Regions from separate parts of the Homo sapiens genome. Here regions 2, 3, 4, 5, 6 and 7 are each linked to region 1. The links are contacts of gene promoters, found by promoter capture Hi-C in blood cells and fetal thymus (Javierre and others, 2016). All regions are on one chromosome and are shown on one strand. Each heading gives the region's core, a stretch centred on a gene start or on the middle of the fragment in contact. The rest is flanking DNA. Distances are from core to core; before and after follow the strand shown. Region 1 holds the start of NRP2 (neuropilin 2). Region 2 overlaps LOC101927840 (a long non-coding RNA gene). Region 3 has its middle 55 kb from the start of ICOS. Region 4 has its middle 130 kb from the start of ICOS. Region 5 has its middle 140 kb from the start of ICOS. Region 6 has its middle 160 kb from the start of ICOS. Region 7 has its middle 180 kb from the start of ICOS.

The links. The method cuts DNA at HindIII sites, captures the fragments that hold promoters and counts their contacts. A CHiCAGO score of 5 or more calls a contact.
Region 2: a contact is called between a fragment that was not itself captured here and the fragment with the promoter of NRP2 in region 1, in 1 of 17 cell types (M2 macrophages). The highest score is 8.0, in M2 macrophages.
Region 3: a contact is called between a fragment that was not itself captured here and the fragment with the promoter of NRP2 in region 1, in 2 of 17 cell types (M1 macrophages and M2 macrophages). The highest score is 9.3, in M1 macrophages.
Region 4: a fragment that was not itself captured here is called in contact with the fragment with the promoter of NRP2 in region 1 in 2 of 17 cell types (M2 macrophages and M0 macrophages); the score reaches 9.7 in M2 macrophages.
Region 5: a fragment that was not itself captured here is called in contact with the fragment with the promoter of NRP2 in region 1 in 3 of 17 cell types (M2 macrophages, M0 macrophages and M1 macrophages); the score reaches 12.7 in M2 macrophages.
Region 6: a fragment that was not itself captured here is called in contact with the fragment with the promoter of NRP2 in region 1 in 1 of 17 cell types (M2 macrophages); the score reaches 8.4 in M2 macrophages.
Region 7: a contact is called between a fragment that was not itself captured here and the fragment with the promoter of NRP2 in region 1, in 2 of 17 cell types (M2 macrophages and naive CD8 T cells). The highest score is 8.4, in M2 macrophages.

Annotation. Positions count from the first base shown.
Region 1 is chr2:205,681,002-205,684,053 of GRCh38, reverse strand. It overlaps NRP2 (neuropilin 2), which reads right to left and starts at 1,553. Exons shown (of 17, transcript NM_003872.3): 1 at 691-1,553. The coding sequence starts at 763. RefSeq lists a silencer at 2,033-2,152. The HindIII fragment of the contact is 6,030 bases long and covers 1-3,052 here.
Region 2 is chr2:203,929,446-203,932,497 of GRCh38, reverse strand. LOC101927840 (a long non-coding RNA gene) reads left to right here. Exons shown (of 4, transcript XR_427213.4): 4 at 1-181. Among named protein-coding and RNA genes, the nearest start is that of ICOS, 5.8 kb to the left of the region's middle. The HindIII fragment of the contact is 4,218 bases long and covers 1-3,052 here.
Region 3 is chr2:203,990,366-203,993,417 of GRCh38, reverse strand. No RefSeq gene overlaps it. Among named protein-coding and RNA genes, the nearest start is that of ICOS, 55 kb to the right of the region's middle. The HindIII fragment of the contact is 3,745 bases long and covers 1-3,052 here.
Region 4 is chr2:204,061,638-204,064,689 of GRCh38, reverse strand. No RefSeq gene overlaps it. Among named protein-coding and RNA genes, the nearest start is that of ICOS, 130 kb to the right of the region's middle. The HindIII fragment of the contact is 1,169 bases long and covers 1,067-2,235 here.
Region 5 is chr2:204,078,381-204,081,432 of GRCh38, reverse strand. No RefSeq gene overlaps it. Among named protein-coding and RNA genes, the nearest start is that of ICOS, 140 kb to the right of the region's middle. The HindIII fragment of the contact is 1,990 bases long and covers 603-2,592 here.
Region 6 is chr2:204,098,892-204,101,943 of GRCh38, reverse strand. No RefSeq gene overlaps it. Among named protein-coding and RNA genes, the nearest start is that of ICOS, 160 kb to the right of the region's middle. The HindIII fragment of the contact is 1,568 bases long and covers 640-2,207 here.
Region 7 is chr2:204,116,177-204,119,228 of GRCh38, reverse strand. No RefSeq gene overlaps it. Among named protein-coding and RNA genes, the nearest start is that of ICOS, 180 kb to the right of the region's middle. The HindIII fragment of the contact is 9,583 bases long and covers 1-3,052 here.

The DNA of each region.
Region 1 (3,052 bases), core at 304-2,803:
CAATTTGTTTTAGCTAATAATAATTTCTAAAAGAACGTACGATTTACTTTCCCAGACAACACATGGATGAAGAGAGAAGAGACCAACCGTCTTGGTTGCCAGCAGCACCCAACCCCAAGCCCCTATCTCAGCCACAAGCCAACTTGCTCCACCAGCCTGAGCCTTATGATTCTGAAGCATAACCAGTCATTCTCCAAAGAATCTACAGCATCTGAAAACCAAAACTAAACTCTTGTCTTTCCCAAGCCCTTCAGTTAACATTGCTCAATGTAGCTAAGTGGAGGGAATGCAAATGATTTATATTTCACTGGCTAGTTGGAGAAACTCAAGGGAGATGTGTTCTGCTTCAAGACAGGGAAAAAAAATTCCCAAAAACTGTAATGCAAAGGCTTTGTAGTATTTTTAAACCTTTGATTCAGTCCATATGTGACATATGAACACCGCCAAATTCTGTTTCAAAACACACTCACACACACACACACACACACACACACACACTCCTAGCAGGAGAGGAAAGTTGGGTTTTAGCAGCCGTGGTGGTGTAGGAAGGGCCGGCTGGGATCTCTCTTTAAATTATTGAGTACTGAGGGAGCCTTCTTCTGTGCCGTTCTGCGTGGCCTTCCTGCTTTAGCGGTCACTTTTAAAGGGGAAACCATGTTGCAATAAATAGAAAAACTTTCAGTGGCTTACCTGGTTGGCCTCTCACTTGGTGTCTTGAAAAGTAGAGGGCTAAGAAAACCCAGGTGAGAGGAAACATATCCATTTTGGAGAAGGTGGCTCTTTCCAGAGCTGGGTTCGTAGGTTTCTTGTTTAAATCTTTGTGTTTTTCTCTCTTTTATTTTCCTCCTTACAACGTCTTATGCAGAGGTTTCTAATGGTCAGCGTTTCCCTCCTGAGTCCTGGTGGCTTGTCTTCACCTCTATTCTTGCTGGAATTTCCACCTCACCAGGAGGAGAGTAGCTCCTGAAATCAGCAAAGAGGGAACAAGCCGGGAAGAGAACACGGTTTTCCTCTTAAAAACAAAACGCATATATGTTCTCTCCAGTTCCTCAAAGTGTCATTTCCTTTATCCTACAAATATCACGAGTATTTCCCGAAAGCCAAGCGTAACAATAATGATAATAATAATAATTAAAACCAAGACTTGCCTTGGGCATCACACGGCCCCCAGGCAGCTGTGTGATCTCAGAGGCGTAAACTGACACACATCCCGCGGCACCCTTGACGGACACACGGGCGGAGGCAGCCGCCGCCGGACAGCCCGAGTGGAAGGCGGCCGCCCTGCTCTTGTCCTCGCCGGGTTCCCCCGGCGGGAGCCTCCCCCAACGGCTACACCCGCTTGGCCAGCCTCTCGAGGGGAGTCTGAGGAAGGAAGCTGCTGCTGCTGTTGCTGCTGCTGGTGCGGCGGCGGTGGCGGCTGGGATCGCCTGGGAGTGAGCGAGCCCCTCTCCGAGTTCGCTGGCGCCCGCCCTCACCTCCACCTCGCCGAGTGTCTGTGCGGCTGAGGATGTGCTGGGGGCCGGCTGCAGGCTGGTGCCTCGCTCGCGATCTCTGCCTCCCCTCCGGCTCCCCACTGCCTTTTCAGGCCGAGCAGCATGTGGATGTCAGAGCCGCGGCAGAGCTATCCGATTACGCGCCGGCTCAGGGCCCGCCCCTTCTGTGTTCCTGATTAAAGAGGCAGCCGCGGAGACGCGCGGCGCAGAGCAGAGTGCCGCGGCACCCAGCTCGGGCGGGGCGGCGACGGCTTCTCTCGGGCCGCCGCAGGATCGAAGTTAAGGCGGCGCCCATCCCACCACCCCTCGCCCGCCCCGCATCTCCCGATCGCCCCCGCGCACCTCCGCGCCGGGCCGCCGGTGCGTAACGCCCTGGGGAAGAAGCGCCCCCGGGCACCCCCAGGGCGCGCCGCCTTGGCCGTGTCGCCCCCACCCAAGGGAGACCCCGGGGGGACGGGGGGAAAAGCCTTGTTCCCCCTAAATTCCACGACTCCGATGCCACACACGCAGAACCCAACACAATGCCACGCGCGATGGCGTTACAAGAGGAGTTGGGTGGCGTACGGTGTTTGGGGTAGCGAGCCGGTCGGCAGCTCAGCCATGCGTTCGAACAGGCAGCGGTGCGTGGCGGCGACACACACCGTCAGCCCGGTCTGAATAAAACCCCAAACACTCGCTGCGTTTACTACTCAGATCCTTTGTTATGTCCCAAACATGCTCTGCTCCTCTCTGGGTTAGGATTTCGTTACCCCTGCGCCTTTAACTGTAACTACCCTAAAAAGAGGAAAGACTTTCTTCAGCAAATAATTTCTTCAGGTAATTAAATTGGATTCCATCAAGTTCCCCCGAAAAAGTATAGGTGCTTGAAGGCGTCTCATCCAAATGCTACTGTAACTACGTCTATTCACATTTTCCCCCATGGAAACGTGGTCACAAAGCCTAGAGAAAGAAAACATCATTATGCCAACTATTTTTAAATGGAGGCGTGAAAACTGTTTAGAGGGAACTGCAAGCTAACAGTTGGGGAAACACTTGTATCTTTGTTTCTGAGGATGGCTTTGTGGATTCCAAACTGTCTTGCTTCACCAGACACCTATTACTACATTATCATAAAGACTGCAACAGAAACAGCCTAAATTACACCCTGCACATGTACACCTTTTCTGCCACAAAAGAGGTATATGAAAAATAAGAAAATTCAGAAAAATATTTACAGATTAAGATTTTTTTTAAATTAAGAAAGTAAAATTTTCTGTAGATTAAGAAAAATACAGTTTCGGTGACGAGAAACACACACCTGACTACCCATTTTCTTCTTGGCTTGTACTTGTGGATTCTTCTGGGTGGTTTCCCTCCTTATCTGGACTTGCCCATTAGCTTTATCACTTTTAGTGTTTGAAAAATCTGTAACTCCCACTTAACTGTTATTTACACTGAGATAACCAAAACAAAATTGAATCAGAAGTGATTTGCAAATAGTTGAGCCAAGCTGTGTTGGGGGGTGGCGCGGGATTTTAGAGTGGAAATCCACAGGCTGAGTATCACACTGTTAATCTCAG
Region 2 (3,052 bases), core at 335-2,834, 1.8 Mb after region 1:
CTTCTACTAAACTGTGAGAAACATCAGAACAAGAACTGAAGATGTCTTCGGGTTTTTTTGTTACTGTTTGTTTGAGACGGAGTCTCACTCTGTCACCACGCTGGACTGCGGTGGCAACCTCTCAGCTCGCTGCAACCTCCACCTCCCGAGTTCAAGCGATTCTCCTGCCTCAGCCTCCCGAGTAGCTGGGGCTACAGGTGCATGCCATCATGCCCAGCTAATTTCTGTATTTTTAGTAGAGACGGGGTTTCACCATGTTGGCCAGGATAGTCTCGATCTCTTGACCTTGTGATCTGCCCGCCTCAGCCTAAAGATGCCTTCTTTGCAAGTATGTTTGCAATGCTCCACAACTATTTATTGAATGAACAAGTGTTTGAAGAATCCTTGACTTTTGGAGGAACCATATGACCTTGGGAATGCTCACCAATGACAATTTTTCACTCTGAATCATAATGTGAGAGCAGAAAATTATCAAAACATGTTTGTATTTCACATTGAAATTAATTGAATAAATATATAATTCATCATCCTGATTCATCTCTCATCACTTGCCCATCTCTAATCATAAAACAAAAGTATATTCCATTTTGACAGCCAAATATTTTCTCATTTAAAGTTATTAATTAATCCATAAAGCCCAGAAAACTGATTATATATTTCCATGAGGGGTGAAAAAAATCAGCATGAGATGTGACTGCCAAATGGTATGATTGATATTTTTAACAAATATACTGCCACTTATTCATGTTGGCCTTCATTCCAATGATAGTATATTCCTCAAAACATAAGTAAGGCACCTCTCTGGATCCCATTCCTTCCAGCCTCTGCAGAGTTCAGGCTCCCTTAGTTCTGTCTTTGGCTCCTGAGTTACCATTCTACAGTTCTGTATTCATCTGTTCTCACACTGCTATGAAGAAATACCTGAGACTGAGTAATTTACAAAGATAAGACATTTACTTGACACACAGTTCCGCATGGCTTGGGAGGTCTAAGGAAACTTACACTCATGGCAGAAGGCACCTCTTCATAGGGCAGCAGCAGAGAGAATGAGTGCCAGCAAGGGAAATGCCAGATGCTTATAAAACCATCAGATCTCATGAGAACTCACTCACTATCATGAGAACAACGTGGGGGAAACCACCCTCATGATTCAATTACCTCCCATCACGTCTTTCCCATGACACATGGGGATTCTGGGGATTACAATTCAAGATGAGATTTGGGTGGGGATACAGCCAAACCATACAGCCAAACCTGCCCCTGGCCCCTCCCAAATCTCATGTCCTTACATTTCAAAACACCATCATGTCTTCCCAACAGTCCCCCAAAGTCTTAGCTCATTCCAGCATTAACCCAAAAGTCCAAGTCCAAAGTCGCATCTGAAACAAGGCAAGTCCCTTCCACCTATGAGCCTGTAAAGTCAAAAGCAAGTTACTTACTTCCTACATACAATGGGAGTGGTATGGTTTGGCTGTGTACCCACCCAAATCTCACCTTGAATTGTAATAATTCCCATGTGTCAAGGGCAGGGCCAGGTGGAGATAACTGAATTGTGGGGGTGGTTTCCCCCATACTGTTCTCATGGTAGTGAATAAGTCTCATGAGATCTGATGGTTTTATAAATAGGAGTTCCCCTGCACAAGCCCTCCTGCCACCATGTAAGACATGCCTTCACTTCTCCTTTGCCTTCCGCCACGATTGTGAGGCCTTCCCAGCCATGTGGAACTGTGAGTCCATTAAACCTCTTTCCTTTATAAATTACGCAGTCTCAGGAATGTCTTTAGTAGCAATGTGAGAACAGACGAATACAGGAGGTACATGCATTGGGTAAATACACGCATTCCAAATGGGAGAAATTGGCCAAAATGAAGGGGCTACAGGCCCCATGCAAGTCCGAAATCCAATAGGGCAGTCACTAAACCTTAAAGTTCTGAAATGATCTCCTTTGATTCCATGTCTCATATCCATGAGGTGGGCTTATAAGACCATCAGATCTCATGAGAATTCACTCACTATCGTGAGAACAGCATAAGGGAAACTGCCCCCACGATTCAATTATCTCCCACTTGGTCCCTCCTATGACCCATGGGATTAAGGAGATTACAGTTCAAGATGAGATTTGCGTGGGGCACAGCCAAACCATGCCACGTTGCTTCTCTACAGTTTATAACCAGCTAGAATCACACACATACACACACACACACACACACACACACACACAGCTTCAGCTGTACATTGCCGCTAGGGAATATGAATCCAGTGTAACCATCTCTTCTGATTTTTTCCAAAGACACATGAAATTCTAGTCTTTGTGGGAAACATCCCCATTTTTAAATTTTGGAGCTTATTCAAAAAGTTTAAAATACACCATGAGCCAACATTATAGGAAGCAAACAAAACATATCTAAAGATCCAGTTTGGCCCATGGACTATTCATTTTTAACTTCTGCTTTAAAGGATGACACTCAATTGGCAGTACATACATACATATATATATATATGCACATAAAATTCAAAGACCTTTGTTTTAGACCTGACTCTGTCACTTACCAACTGTGTGGTCTTGAGAAAGATGCCTAACCTCTCTGAGCGAAAGTTCACTCATTTGTAATCACAGAGGATCCTTGTGAGGACCAAAAGGTAATGTATATGAAAGCTCTTAAAAACTATTACATAGGCCGGGCGCGGTGGCTCACGCCTGCAATCCCAACACTTTGGGAGGCCAAGGCAGGCGGATCACGAGGTCAGGAGATCGAGATCATCCTGGCTAACACGGTGAAACCCCGTCTCTACTAAAAATACAAAAAATTAGCCGGGTGTGATGGTGGGCGCCTGTAGTCCCAGCTACTTGGGAGGCTGAAGCAGGAGAATGGCATGAACCCGGGAGGCGGAGCTTGCAGTGAGCCGAGATCGTGCCACTGCACTCCAGCCTGGGTGACAGAGCGAGACTCCATCTCAAAAAAAAAAAAAAAAAAAAAGTACATAATGCCAAAAATATAGTTATTATTATTTTAAATTTTCATGACTCTTTAATCATCATTGATATTTTTGA
Region 3 (3,052 bases), core at 240-2,739, 1.7 Mb after region 1:
CTGGACCTTGACTGATGAATTGCACTTAGATAGTGAGGAGAGCTTTCCAGACAGGGGAGATAGCAATAAGCAACACACAGAGATGGCAATGTGCAAGTGTCTAAAAGATCACCAGTGACAGGTTAACTGGAGAATTCACGTCAATGCAGGTTGGAGCCAGATTGTGACTGGCATTGAGTATAAATGTACACCGTAGACATTTGAGGGTTTAAGCCACAAAGCAGTGGAAGCTAAATATGGTAGTAGTATATGAAGTGGGCTTAAGAGAGGGAGATTACGACAGAAAGCAAACATATTGTTGCAGTAGTCTCAATTTAAGGTGAAGTGCAGAGATCTGGGTGACTGTCTAGAGGTGGAAAAGGAAGCCGTATCTAAAAGACACTTAGAGGGAAAAAGTATGTCCTGATTAAGGAAGCAAGACCAAGGGGGAGTGAGGGTGTTATGCAAGAAGAAGGCGGGTACAGAATACCCCAAGGTTTTAATAACAGGAAGCAGAGAGAACGGGCTATATAGTATCATTAATAAAATAGGAAAATCTTTCATTCAGTCATTTGCTCAATAACATTAACTCTGCACTTTTACCCCCAGATCCTACGTGGTGTATTGGAATCCAGAGATGAACACAGCAGTCCCTGCCTTCCAGGAAATAACAATCTAGTCAGAAGGAGAAACTATCTTGGGGAAGAAAGATGAGTATTTACTCATAAGTTAATAGATCCAAAAAAAACTTAAATGTCACCTAGAGTACTACTCACCCTACCCCACCTGAAACAAACTTTAAAGATGAGAAAATGAAGTCCAAAGACAGTAAGTGGTTACCAAAATTCACACCTCCAGTTATTGTCAGTCCAGAAGGTGAGCCCAGAATTCTTGATGTCATAGCATACCACCATCTATGTTTGACACTTGATCATGTATTGTCTGTGACATCATTCATAGAGTATCAAATAAAGGAATGGAAGTCTATGGCAAACTGCAAACCATAGAAGGTAAACTGTGGCTAACTCACTTCTCACGCGCTGGTGGTCTTTTTATCGCCTCGCAAGATTCTAAGTTATATCCAAGGCCCATGCATCCAATGTCTGTGGGAATGAGGATGTCATCCACCATCCAGATGAAAGCCTGCCTCTCCTCTCTCCCCTATTGCCTGTACCCAAAGATTCTTAAAGTCTTGTCACTCTATCTCTTTGATATTGTTCAAACTGATCACTTCATTTATACCACTGCCACTAGTACCTTAGTCCAGGCCCTCATTCCAGTTGTTGCCTAATTTTTGGCCTGCTCCACTTCAATCTATCATTTTCACTCTGCCATCAAAGGGCCAAATGTCATTCCTCTACTTCATTGACTACAATGTTTGTTCATTGACTACAGGATAGGGTCCAATCTCCTTAGTATGATCAGAAGTTCTTTTTCTTCCAGAAGAACTTTCTTGCCATTCATTTCCAAGTACCCTATGGCCTCCATAAAAAACTACCCACCATTATCAGAACACCTCAAATTCTTTAATTTCATATGCCTTTGCATATACTGTGTATTTTGCCTTTTTTTCTCTTCTTACTACTTGAACTTCTACTCATCCTTCAATGCCCATCTCAAAATCATCTTCCTTAAATATAGATTTCTGTTTATTGTATTTATTCATAACACACACCATGACAAAAAATAAATGCAGATAATGTCACATACAGAGATACGCACTATTTAGCAAAGTTAAATATATTCAAGTTGGCAAATTATGGGAAAATAAGATGAAGACAGGAGTGATGTTAGGCTGCAAAGTGTTTATCTTACAATCTTATGTATTTGCTGGCCTTTCACAGTTCTTCACTTAAGCCTCTGCAACCTTTGTATGTTTATGTGTTTTACTCTTCCCCTAGACCGTGAGTCCATGAGGAAAAGAAACTCATCTTCATGATCTCTGTATCACCAGTTTCTCCAATAATATGTGGCACTTATTAAGCACTCAATACATAGTCACTGGATAAAAGAATAAATGAATGGATAAATGTATATCATACTCATCTTTATACCCCATATACTAAATAATTTATATATAATGTGTGAAGTGATGAAAGGAAATTCTGAGAAATATTCAAGTACCTAGAGATATGGTCATCCCCTTTGGGAATAATAGATTAATCTTTGGGAATACATTAAATATCAAGAAAGAAAATTTAGAATGAAAAGAAATGGGAAAAAGAAGCCAATGAAAAAGAAAAAAGGGAGTGGTCAAATAGGAAGAAGCAGTAGGGAGACAGAAAAGACAGGAAGCGTGATGGGTCCATAGCTGTGAATGCTCAGGAGAGGCAAGCCCATCTTGAGTCTAATGTGTATTCTCCATGCCAGGCATAGAGTAGGCGCTAAATAAACATTGTCATGTCAGAAGTTGGAGAGAGAAACTTTAAGGTCCAAAGTCAGGAGCACAGAAAGTTGAGTGACTTCTTTGTCCTCAGATTCAGTCTGGGCCTCCGTATGAACACGCTGTCACACAATTTGCTATATTTACATTTCCATCAGCTTTAACTCATTTTTGGCTACCTGTTCCTCTAGACTCTAGAGCTCTCAGAAGCAACCCCTTTGTTGACATTTATTCTCCCTGGTTGTTCACTTTTGGGTGAATAGGCATTCTTTTCAGATCCCATTTGATTTCTGCATCCGCCTAGGCATTCCTGACTTACTCTTACCTTAGGTGTAACCCATGGATCACCCATCCTGGGGTAGTCCCACCTTACTCTTCAAATGTATATACACCACCCCTGGCAGTTACACAGCTCGGAAACTCTCATCTCCTTCCTTGTTCCAAACCCTAATGCGTCTTGGCCCTAACAGACTTTGAGATTGAAATACACGTTGTCTCTTGAACTAAGTATATTGTATTTACTCAAAAAGAAGACTAGGTTGCATTGGGTATTTTTCTCTCTTTTGTTTTTTTTTTTTGAGACGGGGTCTCACTCTGTCACCCAGGCTGGAGTGTGGTGGCGTGATCTTGGCTCACTGTAGCCTCTGCCTCCCGGGTTCAAGCTATTCTCTCGCCCCAGCCTCCTAAGTA
Region 4 (3,052 bases), core at 402-2,901, 1.6 Mb after region 1:
GGCACCAGGGACCAGTTTCATGGAAGACAATTTTTCCACACACTGGGGGTGGGAAGATGGTTTCTGGATGATTTAAGCACATTACATTTATTGTGCACTTTATTTCTAATATTATTACGTTGTAATACAGAATGAAATAATTATACAACTCACCAGAATATAGAATCAGTGGGAGCTCTGAGCTTCTTTTCCTGCAACTATCTGGGAAGCCCCATATGGGGGTGATGGGAGACAGTGACAGATCATCAGGCATTAGATTCTCATAAGGAGCGCACAACCTAGATCCCTCACATGCACAGTTCACAATAAAGTTCACGCTCCTATGAGAATCTAATGCTGCCACTGATCTGGCAGTAGACAGGGCTCAGGTGGTAATGCAAGCCATGGGGAGCAACTTTAAATACAGTGAAGCTTTGCTCACTCTTGCTCGCCCGCTGCTCACTTCCTGTTGTGCGGCCCAATTCCTAACAGGCCACAGACTACCACCTATCTGTGGTCCAGGGATTGAGGACCCCTGCCCCAGGGGAAATAAATATCTTTTCCTCCAAATTGCTAGGTTCATGGCTGAAATTCTTTTAACAAAAGACAGATTAAAGACAGAAAACCATACAAGTTCATTTAATATAAGTTTTATATGACACAAAAGTCTTCACAAAGAGATAAAAACCCAAAGAAACAAATAAATGTGTATTTTTATGCTTAGGTTTGATGAAGAGTTGAATAGTCACAGAGAAGCATGATTGGACAAAGGGGTTTGTTCTAATGGTAATACACTGCAGGGGGTGAGTCGGGGGACTTAGCAAGGCCTGTTTGTTCAGGTTCTTCTCTGTGTCCCTGTGTCTTCAGAGATAAGGAAGTTTCTTTCTTCCAGGTATGGGGAGGATCCCTCTTGAATTAGGGTCCTATGACTTGCTTCACAGGAGAAGGATGAAAGGAAGGTGAGAGTGGCCCTCCTACGTTCCATGACCTCCTTCTGCTGTTCCCTCAAATGCCAAGGTGCCATATTTTGGGGTAGCATGTCCTGAATTCCATCAATACCTAAAGCCCCTTTTTTCACTGTAAAGCTTTTCCATTCCCCTGACTGCCTGTGAGTCTCTACCAAAATGCAAGTGATGGTCCCTTGCTGTATAGCAAGCTACAAATTAATAGACTATTCTCTCTCTCTTCTTCTCTCTCTCCCTCTTATTTATTTCTGCAATTCCATTCTTTCTTTATTTGTTCATTTCCACAAATTCAAACCCTAGTTGTTCAAAATATTTCAATCTGGGGTATCCCTCACACCTGAAGGAAACACTAAAGTTCAGATTTAGGAAAACTACATTTGCTCTGTAAAGAAATAGAACTCTGTCATTCATATTGTACTACATTCATATCAGACAAAGAAGAAAATTCTTATCAGAAAAAGGAAAAACTGGCCATGCCTGGTGGCTCACGGCTGTAATCCCAGCATTTGGGGAGGCTGAGGCAGGTGGATCACTTGAGGCCAAGAGCTCCAGACCAGCCTGGCCAACATGGCAAAACCCAATCTCTACTAAAGATACAAAAAAATTAACCAGGTGTGGTGAGGCACACCTGTAGTTCCAGCTACTCTGGAGGCTGAGGCACGAGAATCACTTGAGCCCAAGAAGAGGAGGTTGCAGTGAGCCAAGATGGCACCACTGCACTCCAGCCGGGATGACACAGGGAAACTCTGTCAAAAAGAAAGAAAGAAGGAAGGAAGGAAGGAAGGAAGGAAGAAGGAAGGAAGGAAAGAAAGGAAGGAAGGAAGGAAGGAAAGAAAGAAAGAAAGAAAGAAAGAAAGAAAGAAAGAAAGAAAGAAAGAAAGAAAGAAAGAAAGAAGGGAAGGAAGAAAGAAAGAGGGAAGGAAGGAAGGAAGGAAAGAAAGAGAAAGAAAGAGATGGCAAGGAAGAAAGGGAAGAAGGAAGGAAGGAAGGAAGGAAATAGGAAAAGCTCTTTCTCTGCTTTTTTCCCCTGTAACATGTTTATTAAGATATAATTCACATACCATACAATTCCACCCATTTAGAACGAATACTTTCAATGGTTTTCCATATATTCACAGAGTTGTGCAACCATCACCTTATGCGTTGAATTTTAGGTTTCAGGCCTTACAAGGTTTCATGTGTCCCAGATTGAAATACTGTAATAGCTAACATTTATAGAGTGCTTACTATGAGCTAGGCACTGTGCTCAGTGGTTCATGTGTATTGCCCCATGGAGTCCTCTTGGCAAGCTTATGGAGTAGGTACTATTAGTGTCACCACTATTTTACAGGGTAGAAAGCAGTAGCACAGAGTTCCGTGGCTGGCAAGCTTGGAACCAAGATGAGGACCAGTCACGTGAATTTTGCCACTTTTTAAAAAATTAGTCTAATAGACTTTGCTATACTTATGAGAAAATTTTTAGAAAAGAACAGTTTTCTTTCTTAGGTTTTCATACCCTTACTTCTAGACTTAGCTCCACCAGGCTTCCTGAGTCAACTGAGCTCTTGGAATTTGTGAAGTTTTCAGAAATGATGTCAATTTCTCCCATCAGTTACTACTAGAGTAAATTCTATCTTCACATTTCAAAACAGATTTCTTAGGTTCATCACTCATCTGGATATTTCCACATGGTTCCTGTTTTAATGTTATTTTCCAGCTGGTGAGCCTCCTTGCTCCCCATGACCTTCTTAGAAAAAGGTGTATGTGTAGGAACAGAAAAACAAACACCTCATGTTCTCACTCATAAGTGGGAGTTGAACAATGAGAACATATGGATATAGGGAGGGGCCTGTTGGGGGGTGGGGGGGCAAGGGGAGGGAGAGCATTAGGACAAATACCTAATGATGCGAAGCTTAAAACCTAGATGATGGGTTGATGGGAGCAGCAAACCACCATGGCACATGTATACCTATGTAACACACCTGCACATTCTGCACATGTATCCCAGAACTTAAAGTAAAATTTAAAAAAAAAAAAAAAGAAAGTAAAGAAAAAGTTGTATGTGATGGGGAGGTCTGGCAGGGAGTGTGTGAGAGGCAGGCTGAGGCTATTGTCATAATCGACTGTCA
Region 5 (3,052 bases), core at 348-2,847, 1.6 Mb after region 1:
CACCACAGCAGGCTGGGGAATGCAGTGAGATCTTGTCTCTAAGAAATAAAATAAAATAAAAAATAAAATGAATGTTACCCATTTAGAACACAATTTTCTTCTGGGTTATGGCTTCAGAGATTAGATTATTTCATCAACTATAAATCTTTGGGCTTCTATTGTGAATCTACTGACTCTGAATTCATGTTTTAGCTAAGTAATCTTGATCTCAGAATCAGTAAAAGTAAGTTACCAAATTCTGTTTTTTTAGATCTTCATTTTTCTAATTAATCCCCTATAATTTTCAGTGCATCTACTTATGATTTGTGTATGTTCCTAAACAACAAAAAAAAGAAGTTTAAAAGTTATTCAGTGGATACTATATTGACTGTTCTTTTCTACACTGAATTTTTTTTACATAAATAGAGCTATATTTGAGTCACATGTTATATTTGATCCTGGAGGACATCCAACAGCAAGTTTTCTAGAATCCCTGAGTCTGATTCATCTCTATCTTTACAACATTTCCCGAGATCTCAGGAGTCCATGGCTCCCAAGGTCATTCCCCTTATGAATAACAGTATCACCTTGAACTCAGTGTCAGCCAATAGTTACCCAAAGCTTAATTGGAAGAAACAATTTATGGAAGTGTCCTGGTGTCCACTCATGCCTCTGACTCTTTAAAAATCTATCTTGAGATTAAGCTAGATGTCAGAAAGTTGTTCCCTAAGACCTCATCAAATTGGTCCTCTGTTGGATTGCTTTAACATTAAGTTCAATGTCACCAGCCTAAAAGGAGGGGCGTTATCAGAAGCAGACTTGTGAAGCTCATTGTATCATCTATGAGGATGTTGTTGAAGGTATTATCAACTAGATTGCACAATGTCTCCTCTTTGAGGACCTATGTGACTAGTTTCTTTCAGGCTTCAGTGCCAGGAATAGCTAGGCCACTCCTGATCACCTAGTTTTATCTTATAAAGTGTAGGAGGATTGAATTCCACTTTATACATTGCCTATTAAAGAGCTTGGAGCAAGTTAGTAGTACCTCATGACATATGTTTGTGCTCCAGCCTCTTTGATAGTGTTATCTTTTTCCCCCCAACTGCTCTTATTTTCTTATTTCTCTTATTTCCTCAACTATTTATTTCTAATTGAATTGCACATTATGATACATACACATAAATTACAAAGAAACAAATATAGACACAAAAACTAGACTTTAGAAAGTTTACACTTATGCATATTTATAGATGTATTTCTTTTTAAACACATTTCAAAATATACCATTCAGCAGGGAAAAAAAATACATGGTGTTTGGCACTACACAACACCAGTATGAAAATTTTCTGTATCTTACAGAGAAAATACAGTTTATCTCTCGAGTAGGAAGCTATAAAACAAATACAGGAATGTATGCATACTCTGCATTTACAGATCCACACAAACAATTGCATGTAAAAGCACTTAAGGGTTAGGAAGCCACTGAGAAAAAAGCCAGGAAACTAACTTTAGATCATCTTGTTCTACCAGTCTGCAAATGACTATAATAACACCGTTAATATTTCCAGAATAAAGAGTTATAATATCATGGAGTTTCGATATCATCAAAATCTATATTCATTCATTCATTCCATAAACATATATGAAACAATGCATTAGGCACAAGGGATACTTGGATGAATGAGACACAGCTTACTGCAATAGGAAATATGTAGGATATACATGAGAAGCATCCTTCAGTGTTCATTATGTCTTTGAAACATCCAGGTAGATATTGAAGTAGAACAGAATATTCTCAACATCATAGTTCAACCTAGTCTTTTATAGATACAAAAAGATGTTGGTTGTCTCAGGGCAGCTCATCTTGCTGGGTAAGGAACATGTTCCTGGGGTGAAGAATGGATACTGGAAACTGTGCTCCTTTTCAAGGCAGCACTGAATAGGTGAATTAATTCACTAAATGACATTCCTGTGGCTGCCAAAGCTAATGCTACCCAAACAGTAGTTTATCATCTTGAAACCATCGCTGTCATCGTTTTCTTCTCTTTTCATTTGCCTATATCTTTCAAGTAACTTTAAAGTAAGTCACCAAGTGAACATTTTCTGATATTGTAATAATTATGCGGACCTAAGAGACAGAAAAATTTTGCCCTGAGCCATGAGAATGCTCAGAAAATGTAGACTTCTGTTTGAGAATCGTGATTCCAAAGCCATTTACTTTGATTAAAGTACATCCTAAGGTTTCCAGGTAATATTGGCAGCCAAGGGTCCTTTGTTTATTTCAATATTTAAGTAGGACCAAGGAAGAAACTAGTCTATAAAATTAAGTGAGTTGAAAGATCAAAGTTATTGAGTTGAACTGCACCTGGATCAAGATGACAGTAAGTTTAGTCTTCAAACACAGATATAACAACCTTTATATGGCATGCCAATTAGGTTACGGTTCAACTGCATCCTGAATTATCAACTGCTGGATCAAGGGAGACCCTGATCACAAACATTGTAATAATTCAATTTTGAGGCCACTAAGGTTTGGGACTTTTCTGAGAAGTCTGATAAGAGTCTATTTGGTTTGTTTTTCTGCTGTACATAGTATGCTTTTTGGGGAAAGCTTGGTACAGTTACCCAATGAGTAGAAAAATGGATTTATAAGTCAGGAGGCCGCAAATATCTTCCCTTCACAAAGCTAATTAAAATATCTTCCCTTCACAAAGCTAACTAAAATATCTTCCCTTCACAAAGCTAACTAAAATATCTTCCCTTCACAAAGCTAACTGGCTCTCTAAAGGATTGAGCATTTACGATCTTAATGCCTGAAATCTAAGGAATGTGAAAAATAATGGACAGGTATGTGGAATGACTGCTGTCAAACCCGATTTCTACTAGAGCTTCTTGTTTCTGTTATTTTTATCTGGTTTCAGAAATGCAGTGTCGCCACTACATTCCTAGCATTGACCAGAAGTGGAGACTGCAGCACTTCACCAGGCTCATACATTACAAATGCTTCCTCCTTGTTTCTTTTCTTTGCCCCACCCTGACCTGTACCTGCTGTGGTGGACATGCCTACTCACTC
Region 6 (3,052 bases), core at 174-2,673, 1.6 Mb after region 1:
GTTTGTGGCAATTCATCACAGCAGCAGTAAAAACAAATATAGGATACAAATTCAGGATACATTTGGATAATTTTTAAGATAATTTTTTTTTCTATTTAAGATAATTGCTTTTTCTTACTGTTCTTGGGGTGTTCATTCCCATTTTCCCTAATATACAATGGGGCAAATGCTTGATGGATATGACTGACAAAAAAATGTAGAAAATTGAACTAATTTGGAATGGATAATTACATTAAACCGCTGTCTCTTTGGCAGAGAAGGCCTTACCTTGGAGCGCCAGAGAAGTCTCACTAGGGTAACAGTTTTAATTAGTCCAGCTCTGTCTCATATCCAATGCTCAGCTCTGCATCTGTTGATATTTCTCATTTACAATATGTAATAATTGAAATATTCCAGTATTAAGAAATAATTATTACTAGAGACACTGATGGGTTCAGCTATTATCTGGATGCAAAGTTTCATATTTCACTGTAAAGAAAATAATCTCTATCTTAAGAAATAATGTAATATTTTTTCAGATCTCTTAAAGCAGTCATCCTTTAAAGTAAAAGCTCCAGAAATGAATGACCATAACCTTCTTATTTATTTATATTTTAAATCCTCAAAGTATTGGCCCATCTCATTTTCTTAGTCAAAGCTTGCTTCCTGGTTTTGCCCTGCTAATGACCTCAGCTCCTCTTGATACTTTAGGACCAAATGCTCTTTGATTAATCATTCTCTGTGTTAATATCAAATGGCCCTTGAATTCTTCAAACAGATTGCTGCTTCTGTTAAATAATGTCCTAAATATACAAAGCAGATAAATGATGACCATTGAGCCAATGGGAACAGAACTGAGCTCCAAGACTGCATTGCAATTATAATGAAAAGACACATAACTGATGAGCTCCATATCTGAACTTAAAATGATTTGTGAAGCAAAAGATCAAGAGAAGTACAGGCTGAGGTCTCAAGTTAGAGTTGCTGTGATGAAGTATAAACTGGCGCTAGAAAGCATTTTGAAATTGCTTGATATACATGTATGTGTGCGTGTCTCTCTGTGTGTGTGCATATATATTTTTTTTCTTTGAAATGGTTAAATGCTTCAAGGAATAGAGCCTCTTTGGGGGGCAAAGGCCCAGAACGATATGCATCAGGGTTTTATTTCATTTCAGTCTCTTGGTTATTTTAATTTATGAGGTGTGGAGAATATTAGTTTTTTAGATGATTTAATATTTTATGTTGTAAGTGATCTGCAGTCAGTTTGTTAATTAGATACTGCAGACAGGCTGTTTAATATTATGTGTTGACTCTGCAGGAAAAAAGAAGTATAGAATATTTCTGATAGGCAAAAAAAAAAAAAAATCGAAGGCACATGATCAAAGTTCTCTTAGAGACCATGTGTTAGAGGTGCTTTGCTGTAGAACGAATTGTATTTTGCCCTTATAAAGGCTCCCAGAGTGTGCTAGAGATAATTGGAGCCCTCTATTACTTTGCTCCCTTAGAAGTTTTCTGGAGTTAGGCAGGAAAAGAAGACAGGAAACTGAGCCTTTAATTTAAATAAGAAAGCCATGTCTGGGAAAATTAGAATACTTTTGGAAGTTGGGAATCCATGGAAATGGATTGTCCTATTTTGATTTCCTCAGAGGACCAGTTTGAAGTAGTGATTTTATGTGATTTCCTTCTGGTCCTGTCCTCAATACCAACATCTCCTGAATAAAGAAATGATATGGTATCCCAGTATATTAGTTATATATTTAGCTTTTTAGTTGGAGACTTAGGAATGGGGGAAAACTGACATTGAAAATATAGATGCAAGGCCGGGCTCGGTGGCTCATGCTGGTAATCCCAGCACTTTGGGAGGCCGAGGCAGGCGGCCCACCTGAGGTCATGAGTTCGAGACCAGCCTGGCCAAGATGGAAGAAACCCATCTCTACTGAAAATACAATTAGCTGGGCATGGTGGCACACGCCTGTAATTCCAGCTACTTGGGAGGCTAAGGCAGGAGAATCGCTTGAACCCGGGAAACAGAGGTTGCAGTGAGCTGAGATCGTGCCATTGCACTCCAGCCTGGGCAACAAGAGTGAAACTCCATCTCAGAACAACAACAACAACAACAAATCCGAAAATATAGATGCATTCTCTTCTACTCCTGCTATAAAGGGAGGCTATGGTATAGTTTCTCTGGTTGGTGTCTACTACATGGGTTGGTTTTGCTGACCAAAGCTTTGCAAGAGCAAAGAACCCACCAACAAGGGGCTCTCTCACACAGCTCCATTAGATGTGTCTTATTTTGCTTTGTATAAAGCAAGTGTGCCTAACTCCAGTGAGATTTTTTAGTGAATATTCAACATATATCATAAGGTCAAAACAGACATAAATTGGGTGATTCATTTTAACTTCAGGTATGTGAAATTGAAGACTAATATTTCTCTAAAATAAAAACCTTTGCAAGGTGTTCAACATTCATAAGCAACGCAATAGTGACACATTATTCTGCGGCATGTTGTAAGGCTTTGAAGAAGTTTTGAGTTGTGCTTTATAAGAACAAAATGGTGGTACATAGTATAAATAAGAGAGTTAAAAATAATTCTCCAGTATAACAAAAACGGCACAAAAATTTATAGCCACCAACATAACTAGTATGTTTTCATTCATTTCTTAGCCTTTTGTCTGTTTTATCCCATCTATAATATCAGAATATTCAACGTATTACCTTGCTTTCCTGGAGCTAATGTGACCAATATTAGCATATGGTAAATAAGAAACTATTTTTTCCCATCAAAATAGTATTTTCCAAAGGCAAAATAATCAACCATTGTTGTTGTTTCTATTTAAGTTTTATGTGCTTCATGTACCCATTATGAAGAAACAGTAGGAGCAAAATGGCAGAATAGAAGATGCTCAGTTTTAGTCCCCTTCACAGAAATATGACTAACAACTATCCACATACAAGAATGCCTTTGTGAAAATTTCAGAACCCAAGGATGAGGCCCAAAGCACCCTTTCGGAGTACAAAACAGAAAACCCACATTAAAAAAGTAAGAGTAACAGTCTCACCTTGAGCTAGCAC
Region 7 (3,052 bases), core at 339-2,838, 1.6 Mb after region 1:
AACATCTACAAAATGTAACATGATGTCAACTTCATTATTTGTTATATTTAGTGTTCATAAAAATTTCATTACATTTGAAAACAATTTGTAGGTTAGATTTTCTCATTTTATAAGAATTTCTGAGTATGCACGATGCCTGCCAAGAAATCATTGCCAATCATAAATTAACTGAGTCACTCTTGATAAAATTTTTTTCAAAAGATTGTTTTAAAATCCTTTCAAAAATTTTATGATAAGAAATACATTTCATGTGGGATATCAATGTACTTTACTATATTTTATGTGATGTAGTGAAGTACCCAAAAGAAAGTGTTACCACTAAGAGCTATTTGCTTTCATATATAAGGGAGATGGTCTTCTCTACTATGAACAAGGTAGAGACAATGCACTATCTTCAATTCCAGTTGCTACCCCTTAAACACACACACACACATACACACACACACACAGTCTCAAACTGGAGGTTTGGGGGTCAACGTTTGTTCAGATAGCCCACCTAGCGCATACTAGCTGTGTGAACCAAGATCACTTACTTTATGAGCCACGCAGTTCCTCGTGGCTAATACAGGCCTTGCAGGATAGTTAGGACTAATACTCACCTAATACTAACCTTGCAGAATAGTTAGGATTATTATAGAACCCAGTCCAGGACCAAATTTGCAGTGGATCCTCAATAACTATCATTAGTAATAATATTTTCCTTGTGAAGTCTAGAGGAGGAGAACCAAATTACAGAAGTTTCTGTGTTTTGTAAAAAGTTGAGAGAACTGAGAGATTTTAGATTGAAGAAGAGACATGAACACAAATGGACTGAAGACTCCTTATGGGAAGATACAGGTCTATTCAACTTTGAATAAGACACTATAGACACTATAAGCTGCAAACTGAATAAATTCATAAGTTAAAGATAGCTGGATTTTAATACATAATATCTATAAGATAGAACAGGGATTGAACTTGTGTTTTTTGGTTCTAGGGGGCAGACCAGGACCAGTGGTTCAAAGTTACATAAGAAGCCAGTATCTCCTTATGATGGGAACAGGAGGCAGAGAAATTCTAGGCAGAAAAGGAAGGGGTCCCTGGTGAAGCCCCACCCTCAAGCCTAGAACCGTGGCCCAAAGTGAGAACATCCCCATTTTCCCACTCAAATGTTGCCTTTTCCAAAACCACCCTGGCCCACCCCGTCCCCCATCCCATACCCATAAAAACCCCAGGCTCCACTGGCAGAGGAGCAGCAGAGAAGGAGAGAAGAGAAGCAGCCAGACGTCAGAGAGAAGCAGCTTGACTTCAGAAGGATGGCTTGACGGTGGGACTTTGGAGAAGAGCCTGGTCAGGGATGGCCAGACTCCAGGGGAAGACCACCTGCCTGCTCCACCCCCTTTCCAGCTCCCCTTCCCACTGAAAGCCACTTTCATCAGCAATAAAATCCTCTGTATTCACTACTCTCCAATTCGTTCATGTGACCTGATTCTTCTTGGACACCAAACAAGAGCTTGGGAGCCACGGATGTGGGCAGTTGAGTTGTTTAACACTTAAGCTATCCATGGATGGCAAAGCTAAAAGAGCACTGTAACGTATGCCCTCTGGGGCTCCAGAAGCTGCTGTGAGGCTGCACAGAGTTCTGCTCCTGCCAGTGCCCAGAAACACTTGTCCTGGCTCCTGCACCCACTCACCTGAGTGCTCCCCCTCCCGTGAGGGGTTAACTGCAGCAGGCTGAGTAAGCGAGGTGCCCCAAGGGGTCACGGAAAATTTCCTGTTTCACTTATTTTAAAGAACAACTTTATCACAATTAGAAGTGGCCAAAACTAGAATGGGCTTCCTCACGGAAAAGTGCATTTCCTATAAATAGAGGTATGGAAGAGAGACTGGAAAGAATTGAGGGCTAGACCAAATGATACCTGCACCCCTTCCAACAACTTTGACCTTTCTATTACCATCTCAGCTTAGATCAAACAATAACCTGATTGTCAGTAGGTTCTCAATTATAATTCCCAACCTCACCATGCTAGCACTGAACAATCAGATGAGATCAGGCCTCTGGTACGGGCCCAAAGAGAAAAACTTGCTAGCCTGTTGTTGAACTCCCACCCAAATGGATATGAGATGCCAGGAAAAAGAATGTCCATTGAGAAGCTATTCTTGCTTGTCTTGGCTGCTTTCTGTTCAGTTATGAACATAAGTTTCACGGAAACCATAAGCATTTAATAAAATACCTTAGGTAAGAGTAAAAGAGAAGCTGCCCAAACTCTCTGCATTATGGTCAGGAATTCTTGGATTAAATAGAATTCAATCTAAGTGCTGGCTGAATTGTGTAGTGATGTATAAAAATCTTTTTGAACAATAGTTAATGTGTTCATGTTGTCAAAAGACAATATAGTTAAAATGAGGAGCAATCTCAGTTATGGTGCTTAAAATCTGCTTTATCTGGGAGAACATTGTAAAGTGTCTAAGGTTATGACTTAGTTGCTTGGCTCCACTTAATATCTGTAGACACTGGGTGCCTCTTTTTGACTGCTTTACATTTGATACTGACAAATTTTTAGTTATTTCTGTAAAGGATAAAGCCAATCTGGATAAACTAGGTCACCATTGTACAAACAGTCATGGCCTGAAATAAGCAATAATTAACCAAAAAGGGCCAGACAGACATGGAAGTTGTATGTGCTGTGCCTTCACTTGTGTATTTTAAAGTTTCCTTTCTCTGCTGTGCTCACTCTTTCCTCCCCCATCCTCATCAATGTGTCGCTGATTTTGGACTCATGAAATAGGGCCAGGGCCGTTTCAGGCAGCACTACAGGAGACTTCTCATTTGGGCCTGTTTATATTTTGCCAAGGAAAACTGCAGTTGAATTGTGACCACGTGTTTCTTTTTTTTTATTTTTGGCCCAGTCACGGAGAAGAAACAGGCTTTCTAGCTGGGCAAACACCCAGTACATCAATGCAGCTCAGAATGCCTTCATTTTTCCTCTTTGTGTTGGGAAAGCGGTAGCTCTGTGCCTATGGTAAGCTGTATCTAGTTCAATGAAAAGTCCGAGTGACTTGGGTCCAGCTC